Linked DNA regions of Homo sapiens: all the other regions are linked to region 1. Evidence: promoter capture Hi-C in 16 types of primary human blood cells and fetal thymus (Javierre and others, 2016). All regions are on one chromosome and are shown on one strand. The core of a region is centred on a gene start or on the middle of the fragment in contact, and the rest is flanking DNA. Distances in the headings are between cores, read along the strand shown.

The links. The method cuts DNA at HindIII sites, captures the fragments that hold promoters and counts their contacts. A CHiCAGO score of 5 or more calls a contact.
Region 2: the fragment with the promoter of RPP30 here is called in contact with the fragment with the promoter of GHITM in region 1 in 1 of 17 cell types (non-activated CD4 T cells); the score reaches 5.6 in non-activated CD4 T cells.
Region 3: a contact is called between a fragment that was not itself captured here and the fragment with the promoter of GHITM in region 1, in 1 of 17 cell types (total B cells). The highest score is 5.5, in total B cells.

The regions. Positions count from the first base shown.
Region 1 is chr10:84,137,581-84,142,606 of GRCh38, reverse strand. It overlaps GHITM (growth hormone inducible transmembrane protein), which reads right to left and starts at 3,098. Exons shown (of 9, transcript NM_014394.3): 1 at 3,014-3,098; 2 at 978-1,145. The coding sequence starts at 1,106. RefSeq lists a silencer at 2,818-3,017 and enhancers at 2,591-3,160, 3,161-3,730. The HindIII fragment of the contact is 9,095 bases long and covers 1-4,721 here.
Region 2 is chr10:90,869,784-90,874,809 of GRCh38, reverse strand. RPP30 (ribonuclease P/MRP subunit p30) reads right to left here and starts at 2,836. Exons shown (of 11, transcript NM_006413.5): 1 at 2,742-2,836. The coding sequence starts at 2,823. RefSeq lists enhancers at 2,526-2,585, 2,716-2,985, 2,704-2,998. The HindIII fragment of the contact is 10,238 bases long and covers 2,425-5,026 here.
Region 3 is chr10:78,022,058-78,024,958 of GRCh38, reverse strand. It overlaps POLR3A (RNA polymerase III subunit A), which reads left to right. Exons shown (of 31, transcript NM_007055.4): 5 at 256-410; 6 at 2,575-2,814. Among named protein-coding and RNA genes, the nearest start is that of POLR3A, 6.0 kb to the left of the region's middle. RefSeq lists an enhancer at 1-166. The HindIII fragment of the contact is 7,786 bases long and covers 1-2,901 here.

The DNA of each region.
Region 1 (5,026 bases), core at 1,849-4,348:
CGTTAATAAAATAAAATGCAAGATCCCTTTACACTAGAAAACTCTAGTTAAAGAAACTTGGTACTTTCTATATACCTAACTTCACTATGGAAATTTATTAGCCAACTTAAAAAACTAAATGTAAAAATAAATAAATAAATGTAGACCTTCCCTGTGCTCCACCTTTGGAAGTTAGTAATTCATTATATTATTCTTAGTTTCAATTTCAGAAAAATTGTTTCTTTCACAAACTATAGATTTACATACCTAGAATTGTTATATTTTAAATCCTAACCAAATACCAGGGTGAGAATCTGTTAGCATTTTTAAGATATGCATTCTACAAGCATTATTAGCTATATTTTGTCATCTGGGATATGGACTCAAGAACAGCATCTTTCCTTAACATGAAGCCAAGAAGAGGGAAGACTACTACTTCCATTGTGGCTCTTTTTCAACAGTGGAACAGTTAATTTAAAAGAGAAAATGTCTCCTAGCTTCTTTATATTGTCCTCATTACCTCACACTTCAAACCTTATAATCTGAATGCCAGAAGATAAATCTATTATAAAAATGGGTTTCTTTCTAACCTGACAGATATTATCAACCTCTAAATAAGAGATAATATATTTAGTAATTTATTAATAAGCTATTGGCCAACTGGTAATATCCCTGGGTTCTTAAACTTCTGACTATGTGCTCCAGGATCTCCGTTACACTATGTAACTCTCAATCCCTCACAATGTACTCTAAATTTTCTAAATGAGAAACTCCAGAAGCTGTAAGCGAAGACAGAGTTACAGAAACTCATTTTCTATTTCATATGGGATAAGGAGGGACCAGAATGATACAAACTAATGGGGAGAAAGAGCTGATTGGGGATATTATCAGGGCTAACTGACGTATAACACACTAAAGGCAGAGCAGCCATACTCTGCCAAAAAGAAAGGGCACAAATGGAAAAAGAAGCAATATAAAAACATTCAGATTATCTTTACCCTGCTAGGTGTTAACAGCCATTGATTCTTCGTGATGGAATTCTTCACAACAGGGGAGGCCTTGGTGAAAGCTGGGTGGAAAACCCTAGAAGGTAGTGTCCGGAGACACACCAGCCTTGCAGCCAACATGGTGGTGGTGCACCAGGTCTACCGAGCAGATCTGAAATGCTAGTTTAAAAAAAAGGCAAAACCAACCAAAAAAACATAAGTAAAACAACCTACTAACCAATTAAGAGAAGGACATATGAGAGTCAGAGTCAAGGAACAAACTATTTTTTAGTAGAACAGGAAATAAAGCGACCTTTTTAATTTTCAGCGATGAATTCTTTGCCCAACCATCCACTGTAATGCAAGAAACCCATCCCAGAGAACACAGCTGAAGATGGAGGAACAAACTAGGTTTAAGTCCCAGTTTGACCAATCAAAATAGATGACTGCAAAAATTATGTGTAACACAGAACGGCTGTTAATAACTGGACGTGATTACAGAGTCTGTGATGGTTTTTACAAATGTAGTTTTGGCTTAAGATTTATACCAGCATCCAGTGGGAAAATTTAAAAGAATCTACATAACTTTTGGGCAAAGGAATAGTGTCATCCAAAGAAGACATGAATAGCTCTTCAAGGTTATACTGCATTACAAAGCTAAAAGGTATTAAAAGAAGCCAACTATATGAATTTCAGCTAATCATACCAAATATTACTTTCCTTCAACATGAGATATAAAAATATTCTAAGTTAACCTATTCTATATGTCCTACTATAATGCGTAAAGGACATTTAGTCTTTCAAAGTAAACAAGTAAACTCAGTTACCAACCAGGTTTCCCTTACATTAGACTCCCTCGATGGTGTCTTCAAAAGAAAAGCATGCTAAAAACTGGATTATCTTAGCTCCAGGGCACATTATACTAGATGGGTGGTCAACCAGAAGTCAGCAGACAGTGTTTCTGTAATGCTAAGGTGAGGTGACTACAATAGGTCAGAATGAAATGACGAGTGTAAACCAACTGGGGCTACCAGCCCATCTCTGCCAATGATTTGTAGTGAATTCTAGGCAAGTGATATACTTCTGGGCCCATTTCCCCATCTGTAACATAAGGATTCCGTGTTCAGACTACAGCGTTGACCCTTAGACTACCTGCTTGAAAGTGCCCCGGATGCATCTTAAAATGTAGGCTCCTGGGTCTTTCTTTGCTCCTAATGATTCTACCCCTAGGAATAAGACCAAGAACGTGTGTTTTAACGAACACTCCAAAAGCTAAGAACTATTGCTTTAAGATACCCGAGCGTCCTCCGAGCTCTGCAACTGAACTATTAAGGGTCTTAAAATTCGGCACCCGGCCTTTGGGAAAACACCCAGCGCTTTTGGAACTTTCGTGCCATTACATCATCTCAACCTATGGCTGTCCTGTATCTTCCTCAGTACTCAGTCCACTGGTTGGGGCCGAAGAGGTCCAGCTCAGAGTGACCTCCATGTGGCGTAACAGCCCAGAGTGGGAATCCCGCTTCTGACAGGTTAGAAGTGACCTTGTGAGGAGTGTGGATCTCTAAGACTCAGATGTCGTTGCTATAAAATGGGGAAAATACTACCGACCCTAATCCAAGGGCTTATGCCTCCGTGAGCATTGATGAGTTTGGGTGCCTGGTCCCCGAGAAAGTTCACCCAGCCCGCTAGATTCAGATGAGAACCCGGCAGCAAACTTCCCTGTCAACCCACAACACCTCTGCCCCTGCCCCAGGTGCCGCTACCAGCGCAGCGGCTGTACGGCCTCGCCGCAAGGATGACTCAGCACCTTGTTGCCCGAGGACAGAAGCACAGCTACACTGAGCCCTTGCCCGCCTGACCAGGGCCTTGTGCCGCCGCCCTCTCCACCAGGTCACCCACAGGACTGCGACCCCAACGCGCAGGCCGGCCCTGACGCAGCCAGCAGCACCGCTGCTTCCAGCCCTTCCCCCCGCACCCAGCGGTCCCGTGAGGGCGGCTGTCAGGACCACCGGGGATCCCGGGCGCCCGCCGGCCAGCCGGAGCAGTACCTCGGTCCCCGGTCACCTTCGCCTCGCAGTTTCCCTTCCGGGCCCCTAGCGTCGGCCTCAAAGAGCACAGTTCCTCCGGCGCACTGCATGACGCAACATCGAAAGGACGTAAATAGTACGAGCAGCCAATCACGGGCAGGCCTCTGTCGGAAAAGCGGCCACACTGGGGGAGGCGGGGTTCCGGGTTGAGGAGGCGGGGTTCCAAATTGGTGGGGCGGGGCCAGTTGAGGATTGTTGCAGGGAACGTCATAGTCAGCGTCCATTTTGCGTGTGGGCATGGGAGTCGTCTCGGCCATCTTTGTTTTGGGCAGTGGAGCTCTGTTTTGCTTTTGTTTTAGTCGTTTCACTCGCCGCAGCTATAAGAATTATGTAAAAATTGAAAGAAAGTAATGTTAGAGTTAAAAATTATTCCGTTTATTCCGTTCCTTTTTGAAGGCCTTTTTGTCCCTTAATTTATCGTGAGATAAATATCTTTTCAAATGTGTCTGCTTCTGAGCCGAGTCATCCGGTTTCTGGGGTCTCATGCCAAATGTTAGATGGTGACATCCAGAAAAGATTTTTTCTAGATGGTTTTTTCATTGCTTTGTGACTTTCCCGCCCACATTTTCAAGTTTCACCCTAAACCTGTGTAATAGGCCTGATAACAGCCGCCTCTGCCTTGCACCCAGGATTGCTCTGAGGACTAAGATGTTTCCATTGCGCGTAATTTGATAGGTGAAGAGCTAGTTGTGGAATACGCGAGAGAGTTACTTTCTTTTTCACTCTCCCTCTATTTCAACAGATATTTACTGAATGCTCAACTTCGTACCAAGCTCTGTTCTAGAAATATATACAAATGAATCAGCCGGGCGTGGTGGCTCAAGCCTGTAATCCCAGTACTTTGGGAGGCCGCGGCGGGTGGATCACTTGAGGTTAGGAGTTCGAGACCAGCCTGGCCAACGTGGGGAAACCCTGTCTCTACTAAAAATACAAAAATTTGCCAGGCGTGATTGGTGCCTGTAATCTAAGCTACTTGGGAAGCTAAGGCAGGAGAATCACTTGAACCCAGGAGGCGGAGGTTCCAGTGAGCCCAGATCCCGCAACTGCACTCCAGCCTGGGCGATAGAGGGAGACTCAGTCTCAAAAAAAAAAGAAACCAAAAAAACAAAAACAAAAAAACAGCAAATGAATTAAACCCGTGTGTGCTACCACTATTTTAACAAAATAAAGTCCTTGCTCTGTGGCTTTACTTTCTGGTAGAGACAGAACATAGAAAAAATATAATGTGATAACTTAATACCATGAAGAAAGAGCAGATTAAAACCCTGAAAGGGTGATAAGGTGATTAACAACATGCAAAATTCATGAACCTTTATCTCCTAAGCAGTAGTTAATTGTGATTTATGATTCCTAATCATGTAAACCTTGACAAATATAAAGACTTGCCTTCTATGTGGATAATAAAAGAGTCTGGCAGCAACACAATTCTTATCTCTTTACGCTGAAAATGGCAGGAAAACACTAGAGAAATCTCACGAAACTGAACAGATCAAGCATGATCAGTTTAATTTTTATTTTGATCTATGCCCAATTTTATTAGCTAGCAAATAGGTTTTCTGTTTGGCTCCTTCAGTGATAGTCTTTTTTTCTAGAGCTTCTGTTATCAGCAAAGAGAAAGGATTTACAACACAGTACCAGAATAAAGATCTTGAAGTCAATGACTCAAGCTTTCTTCAAGATTCCTATTAAAGCTTATTCTCTCCATATTGGAAGAAAAATGTCTGATTTCATATTTTCCTTTCTCAAGTAAAGGGCTTGTATTGTTGTTTCCACAGGGGTCAAATATTTTGAAGCAGGGGAGGAATCTGGTCATATCATTGGGAAATATATGCTCTTGTGGCAGTGTAGGAAGGGAGAGGTTCCATGGACCAGGAGACCAATTAGGAATTTATTGTAGTTGTTCAACCAAAAGGCAATAAAGGCTGGAATTAAGCCAGTAGAAAGACACAGAGGGGTTTATGACAGAGATATATT
Region 2 (5,026 bases), core at 1,587-4,086, 6.7 Mb before region 1:
AGGTCCATCCTGAGTCTAGATGTCAAGAGTAGGAGGACATTTGAGGAGTGGTTATGAATGTGAACTCTAGTGTCAGTCTGCCTGATTTAAAGTCTATGCACTACCACTTACAAGTTACTTAACATGAAGTTTCAGGTTCCTCATCTGTCAAATGGTGAAAATAACAACACTTTCTTCATACACTGTCATGAAATTTAAATGAAATAATACACATGAGGTGTTTGAGAACAGTGCCTGGCACACAGGTCTTTGTTTAACCATTATGAATTATTATTAAAATGATACTAAAGACTCTTAACTTTGTGCTTCTCCTTTTCAAATGTCATTCTCTTTCATGACCCTATATTCATTTTTATCCCATCAAGTTCCTACTTTATCACTGTCACTTTTATTCCCGTTCATTTCTTTTGCTTTTTATCCTTCTACTTCCTTCAGAGACTCCTTTCCTAAGGAGAAATGGAGTGATAACTCCCTCACACCACTGCCCGCTTCCCATTTTAAGCTGCACACCATCGACAGACTGGGAGCTCCTTGAGGTCAAGGGCTTGCTTTATTATCCTCATCAGTTAGCACTGTTCTGGACATTTGGGCTACCAAAAAAAAATCTAAATCATGACTCCCATCTTTAATTTTTAAAAATACCAATGGGGATGAAAGGATATTAACATTAAAATACATATCAATGCCAAACTCTCAACAGTTTGTCCAACTTCCTTCTTCCCTTCCTCCCTCAAATATTTACTGAGCATCCATTACTTGACAAGCCCTAAACTGGTGTTGAGCATACAGGATAAATAATATAATCCTTCTCCACAAGAAATTTACAGCCTAGTCTGTTGGAGAACGAAGGCAAATAAGGCAATTAAGCAAGTCATTGTATATAAATACATGTTTTTTATAAGTAAGGATTCTATGGAAGTACATAGCACAGTGAAACCTGGTGTAGGGGTCACAAAAGGCTCCCTGAAGAAAGTTACCCTTAAAAACAAAAAAAAAATCACAAGTATGCCTGTACCTTGGGCTTCACCTTGCACCCAGTTAGTCAAATCAACCAGCCACACCTCCTCCCTATTCTTCTTTACCACACTCCCAAATCTGCTCTAAACTTCCTTGTTATACCCATTTAGGATATCCTTTTGGCTACTAAACAATGTCCCTACCGTTCTACAGAAATGTCAACTAGGATCTGTTTCTCCACAAAACTTTTTCCTAGACTACTCCTCATCTGGCAGCTTAGGAGTACTTACTTCCCCAATCAGGCTTTAGGGTATTTTAATTTACACAGTATATTTCTGAAGCTTATTATTGGTTTCTTGTATCACATCAGAAACTGAGAACCAGGGCTCTGTCTTTCCTATTCTTTGCAAATGTCCACTATTTAGTTCCAGACTCATCAAATAGCAGAGCAGTCCTTTGTCTTTGACTTGTAAGTTGAGGCAACTTTATATGCCATGAATTCCATTTAATTTACAAACAAATAACCACTAACAATGTACATATATTACCACACCTCTTCCAAGTGTATTTTAAACTGGGGGAAATTCTCTAAAGAAATCATTATTAACTTTTCTTTTTTGTATTAATTTTTTTAATGTGTTCAGTTTATTCCACAAGCATTAACTGAGTAACTGCCATGTACTGGTGCCTGCAGAGTGAACGTGTTAAGCACAGTAAATAAAAGGATAAGACATGGCAATTCTCTTAGGAAGCTCATGATTTATTCAAAAATGGGATGGCGTCAGGAAAAGCCTCATTGAGGAGGTAATAATTGCGACAAACTACACCTAGGAAAACTTATTTTACAGGATCAAAGAACATTAGCGCCAAATGGCCCAGATCATCATGTCTACTTTCGTCTTCGTGCTGATGAGCAAAGTACCACAGAGATAACGTTCATTTAGTGGCAGCAGTGGAAAGGGACAGTCATTTCGCCACGGATACTTCATAAAGAGAACAATAAAAAAGTGGTGTGATTCACTTTGCCAAGAAGTGGTTGTCATTTCTAGCACCACCTCTGAACAGTATCAGTAATCAGAACTCACAATGAGCTGAAAACTGTCTCTGAGGAGCAGATGTTACTACACGAACCTCTTGATTCTTTTTAATCTCTCTATTCCAACACTTTACAGTCTACGGAATACAGAACCCATGACTAACTCCAATAGTTAAAACAGGTTCTCGTCTCTCAAGGCTTTCGCTTCCCTTCGATTTGGGCCATGCTATCCTCCTCCTCCACCTCCACTCCGCTGTGTATGTCCTCTGCCCCCACCTACCCTCTCTCTGTCTAGATAGTATTGTTCCAACACTCCCACGTCCTCCTCCTTCTCCGAGCCTCCACGGCGCTTCCTGTCCGTGCCCCAAATTCCAGTATTTGTTTAGACACTGTCGTGAGAATCAGGAAGGGCTGATAGTAACTTAGAAGCTTAGAAGATTGTACCCTTGGAGTCCAGCTCCGGCTTCTGTCACCTATCAGCTGTAGGCCCCTATGCAAATCCCTCGCCCTCGTTAGGCCTCAGTTCCCTCATTGCAGGAAAGTAGCTGAACCAGATAACAACCCCCAGAACCTTCGAGTTTCCCGCGCTAGGAATCAGACCAACACCTCGGCGGGCATCAGCCTCCAGGGACATCCCAGAGACTCTGGGAGACCTGACCGAGACCCATCAGGAAATAGTTACTCCGGAGTGTGGCCCGATGGTCTGGGTGGCATGAGGTTGGCCAGGCGCGAAGCCGGGGCAACTCACGGTGAGCGGCTGTCTCCACAAGTCCGCGCAGAGCCTTCAGGTCAGAACCCGCTCGCAGGTCCAAATCTGCAAACACCGCCATGCTGAAGTCCCATGACCGTCCGCGCGCGCCAGTCTGCGCAGCCGCTGAGCCCGCCCCTCAGGCATGCTGGGAGCTGTAGTTAACCTGCGCAGTCCGTCTCTACCTCCAGTTGACTAGGGATTCGGAGAAACTTACTTGCTTTGCTTTCATCTACCACCAGAATTTGTGTGTTGAAATCAACAGCTTCATTTCAATCTCTCTTTGTCTTCTTCTGAACGACAATGTTTGGTTCCCCCTGGAGGGGTTCCAATTCCCAACTATTCAATACTCCTATAAAATAGTGTAGAAATGAATTCATTCAAAATGCACGCACACGGTATCTACTTAGTGCTGCTCATGAATCAGAGAATTCTGCTAATGGGTGAAAACGCTATTTAAAGAGTCTTAAAGAACACGTTTTCCTTTCCTTTCCCTAAAGTCCATTCCGTTGTTTACAATGGACTTACCGGGAAGAAGGCGTTTGTGTGTGACGGACTCTAGGACTTCAAAAGAGAACTACCCCAAGACGAGGGTCTTTTTACCCAATCAGAACTGTTGATGTCAAAGCCCGCTATTCTCTGTGGCAGTCAACATCTTCAACCACAAGATGGCGGGACTCGCTCTAGGACGAGCGGTTAGAGCCAACATTGATTTAGCCAAAGACATGTTTGAAAAGGGAGGTGCAAAATTGAGATGTTTTACACTTTTCCAGCTGAGAAATGTACAAGGTGACGCATATCCCACATATCTGATGTTTCCACTTTTTTCCGACTTAGTGTAAATGATCTATTGAGGATAATAATCAATTATACTACAAAAGTGTGACTATAGTTTACATCAGTGCTCTCAAACTACCTGTGATGAAGGATCAGTTTCTCCCTCCTTTTCCTCTACCCCCAAACTCTTCGCGAACCAGGATGTGGTCCTTTATGCATTACCAGTAAGCAGCCTGGCCTCATGGGAATCACAAATTTGACAACACTCGAACTGCCCTATACCTGGCTGAATAGAATCTGCTGATCAGGAGCTTGGATTATCAGGACAATGCCAAAGTACTGTAAACTTTCTAAACATCTTCACTTTTTGTTTGTTTGTTTGTTTTATTAACGTGCGCACAGCAACAACAATCACAGAATTAGAGGCTCGGTCATTTGACCTAGGGAGTATCCTAGTTGGTGGCCTGCTGAGTTTTCGTTTCGTTTTGTTTTGTTTTTAGAGAGAGTATCTCGTTATTGACCAGGATGGACTCTAACGCAAGCAATCCTCTCTCCTAGCTGTGATTACAGGAGCCCACCCACATGCTTCACCCATCAATTTCTCTTATTTACTGATCACAAACAGTTCACAGATAGTCTCTCGTCTATGGACCACACCTTAACTAGTACTCCTTTATGCGATTTTCTTGTCGGTCTCAGAAGGGAGGAAGGATCTGTTCCATGCAGTAGCATGCAATTCTCTTCTTGGTTAACTTTTGTAAAGAAGAGATATTTTGCCTTTTCCAGTACTTGATATTTCCTAAGTGGGAGTAGAAGAGAATATTACTTCTGCAAATAGAATAAGGTCATATGAAGCAAACGCTTTGTTTTTCATGAGAATATCTAGTGTTAATTTTGCAGGGTCACACAGGCATCATCACCTATGACCATAACAATCTAGATTGGTCAGAAATATGACCAATGTGTGGTGAAGGTGAATAAGGTGATAGTTCAATTATTTTTTCATTTTTAGTTGACACATTGTAATTATACATATTTATAGGGTACAATTTCATGTTCTGATACATGTATATGTTGTATAATGAACAAATCAAGGTAATTAGCATATTCATCACCTCATGCATTTTTGGTGATAACATTAAAAAAAACTCTTCTAGCTGTTTCGTGATATATAAACAATACCTTACTGTTAACCATAGTCACCTTGTGTGCAATACAACATCAGAACTTATTCCTCCTATCTAACTTTGTACCTGTTGACCAACCTCTCCCCATCCTCCTCCCTCAATCCCTCCCTCAATACCAATCAGTTGGCTATAGGTGCATGCATTTATTTTTGGTCTCTCTATTCTGTTACATTATTGGTCTATGTGTCTGTTTTTCTGCCAGTACCATGCTGTTTTGGGTACTATAGCTTTGTAGCATATTTTTAAGTCAGGCTTTGTGATATCTCCAGCTTTGCTCTTTTTGCTCAGGACTGCTCTTGCTGTTTGAGGACTTTCGTGGTT
Region 3 (2,901 bases), core at 375-2,874, 6.1 Mb after region 1:
CACAGAAGGCTAAGCAATAGCCCTTTTCACTCACTGTCTTCTGTTTAGTTTATTAGGTTTACATAATGTTCGGGAGTCAGCTTTTCTCCTTATAAATTAGGCTTAAGAGCCCAACAACTGATGTCCTATTGGGAAACGGACCTCTCATCTTTCATTGCTATAGTAGTTTCAGTAATTTCATTAACCATACTACAATCTCTGGCCAATCTGAGAACATAATTTTTTATTTCTTGGTAAATAAACTAACCCTTATAGGTACCGTAAAGAAGTGTGGACTGCTGAAAATAATTCATGAGAAATACAAGACCAACAAAAAAGTGGTGGATCCCATTGTATCAAATTTCCTTCAGTCTTTTGAAACAGCCATTGAACATAATAAAGAAGTGGAGCCTCTGCTGGGAAGGGCACAGGTGAGCCTGAGAATGCACGCCTGCCTTCCGCCTGCCTCCCGCCTGCCTCTTCCGCACGTCACATGCACACTCTCTCCCCCAACTCCGCCCCACCCCTAGACACCCACTTTCTTCCAAAATGAGAGGTCCAGTTAGGTTCGACAGCTCTCCGATAATTCCTTTTTTTTTTTTTTTTTTTGAGATGGAAGACAGAGTCTCGCTCTTTCACCCTGGCTGGAGTGAGTGGTGCAAATCTTGGTTCACTGCAACCTGTGCATCCCAGGTTAAAACGATTCTTCTGCTTCAGCCTCCCAAGTAGCTGGGATTACAGGCATGTGCCACCATGCCCACCTAATTTTTATATTTTTAGTAGAGACAGGGTTTCCCCATATTGGCCAGGCCAGTCTTGAACTCCTGACCACAGGTGATCCAGTCGCCTCAGCCTCCCAAAGTGCTAAGATTACAGGTATGAGCCACCACACCCGGCCAGCTCTCCAGTAATTCTTATTTGACCGTAACAGTGTTTATCTGGCACTAAGGCTAATGTGGACTGGCCTTGTAACACCAGTTGTTTTTGTTTTTGCTTTTGTTTTTAATTGAGATGGGGTCTTGCTGTGTTGCCCAGTCTGGTCTCAAACTCCTGAGCCCAAGAGATCCTCTCACCTCAGCCTTCCAAAGTGCTGGGATTACAGGCATAGGTCACCATTCCTGGCCCCTTGTTTGTGTTTTTACCTCAGTTCTTTTTTTTTATTATTATTTTATATATTTGTTTATTTATTTATTTTAATTTTTGAGGCAGGGTCTCTCTCTGTCTCCCAGGCTGGAGTGCAGTGGTATGATCGAGGCTCATTGCAGCCCCGACCTCCTAGGCTCAAGTGATCCTTGCATGTCAGCCTCCCAAGTAGCTGGGACTACAGGCACACACCACCACCCCCAGCAACAATTTTTTAATTTGTTGTAGAGACAAGGTCTTGCTATGTTGCCCAGGCTTTGAACTCCTGGGTTCAAGCAATCCTCCTGCGTCAGCCTCCAAAGTACTGGGATTACAGGTGTCAGCCACTGCATCCTGGCTTACCTTAGTTCTTTTTTAACAGTAACACTTTTTTTTTTTAGAGACAGAGTTGCTCAGTCACCCAGGCTGGAGTGCGGTTGCACGATCTAGGCTCACTGCAACCTCCACCTCCCACGTTCAAGTGATTCTTTTGCCTCAGCCTCCCGAGTTGCTGGGACTACAAGTGCCCGCCACCATGCCCGGCTAATTTTTGTACTTTTGTAGAGACAGGGTTTTACTATGTTGACCAGGCTGGTCTTGAACTCCTGACCTCAGGTGACCCACCCGCCTCAGCCCCTCTAAGTGCTGGGATTATAGACATGAGCCACCATGCCCAGCCAGTAACACTTTTTTTTTTTTTAGATGGAATTTCACTCTTACTGCTTAGGCTGGAGTGCAATGGCATGATATCGGCTCACGGCAACCTCTGCCTCCCAGGTTCAAGTGATTCTCCTGCCTCAGCCTCCCAAGTATCTGGGATTACAGGCGTGTGCCACCATGCCCAGCTAATTTTTGTATTTTTAGTAGAGACGAGGTTTCGCCATGTTTGTCAGGCTGGTCTCGAACTCCTGACCTCAGGTAATCTACCTACCTCGGCCTTCCAAAGTGCTGAGATTACAGGCATGAGCCACTACGCCCAGCCTCCAGCTACCAATATTTTATGGACCTTTTTTATGTCAATTGCTGTGTTTGTCTAGTATCTTTTTTTCCCCCCAATGGCTTGCTGCTTTTCCACATAGGGATATACCGTGATTTTATTTAGCCAATAAACTGTCAGGCTCTTTCCAACTTTTCACTGTTAAGAACAGCTTTTATTACCTTCCTATTCTGTCACACGGATAAAAAATAACAAAAAACAGCTTTTGTGAACATTCTTGTAGCTAAATCTTTGTGTTCATTTCTGAAGTTACACCCCTTGGAATAATGAGAAGTGGAATTTTTGGCTTGAAAAATTGGAATAAAAGACATACACAATTTTAAGGCTCTTGCAGCATAGCGTATCATCCATAGAAATCTCTGTTGTCACTTATCCTTAGTGACAGATAGGTTAGAAAACATAGTGAAGGAAAACCTTGCCCAAGCTATGGAAAACTAACATAGTATCTCCATTTCTGCCTTTCTTCGTTTCCATAGGAAAACTTGAATCCCTTAGTAGTTCTGAATTTATTTAAACGAATCCCAGCTGAAGATGTTCCTCTACTTCTGATGAACCCAGAAGCCGGAAAGCCGTCTGATTTGATTCTCACACGACTTTTGGTGCCTCCTTTGTGTATCAGACCCTCCGTTGTGAGTGATTTGAAGTCTGGCACCAATGAAGATGATCTGACAATGAAACTGACAGAAATCATTTTCCTAAACGATGTTATTAAAAAGGTCAGTGCCTCCCATTTCCTTGTAAGTTTCATAGTATATCTATCCAAAAACTTCTGGTCAAGAAAATGTGAGAAAAATCAAACTGAC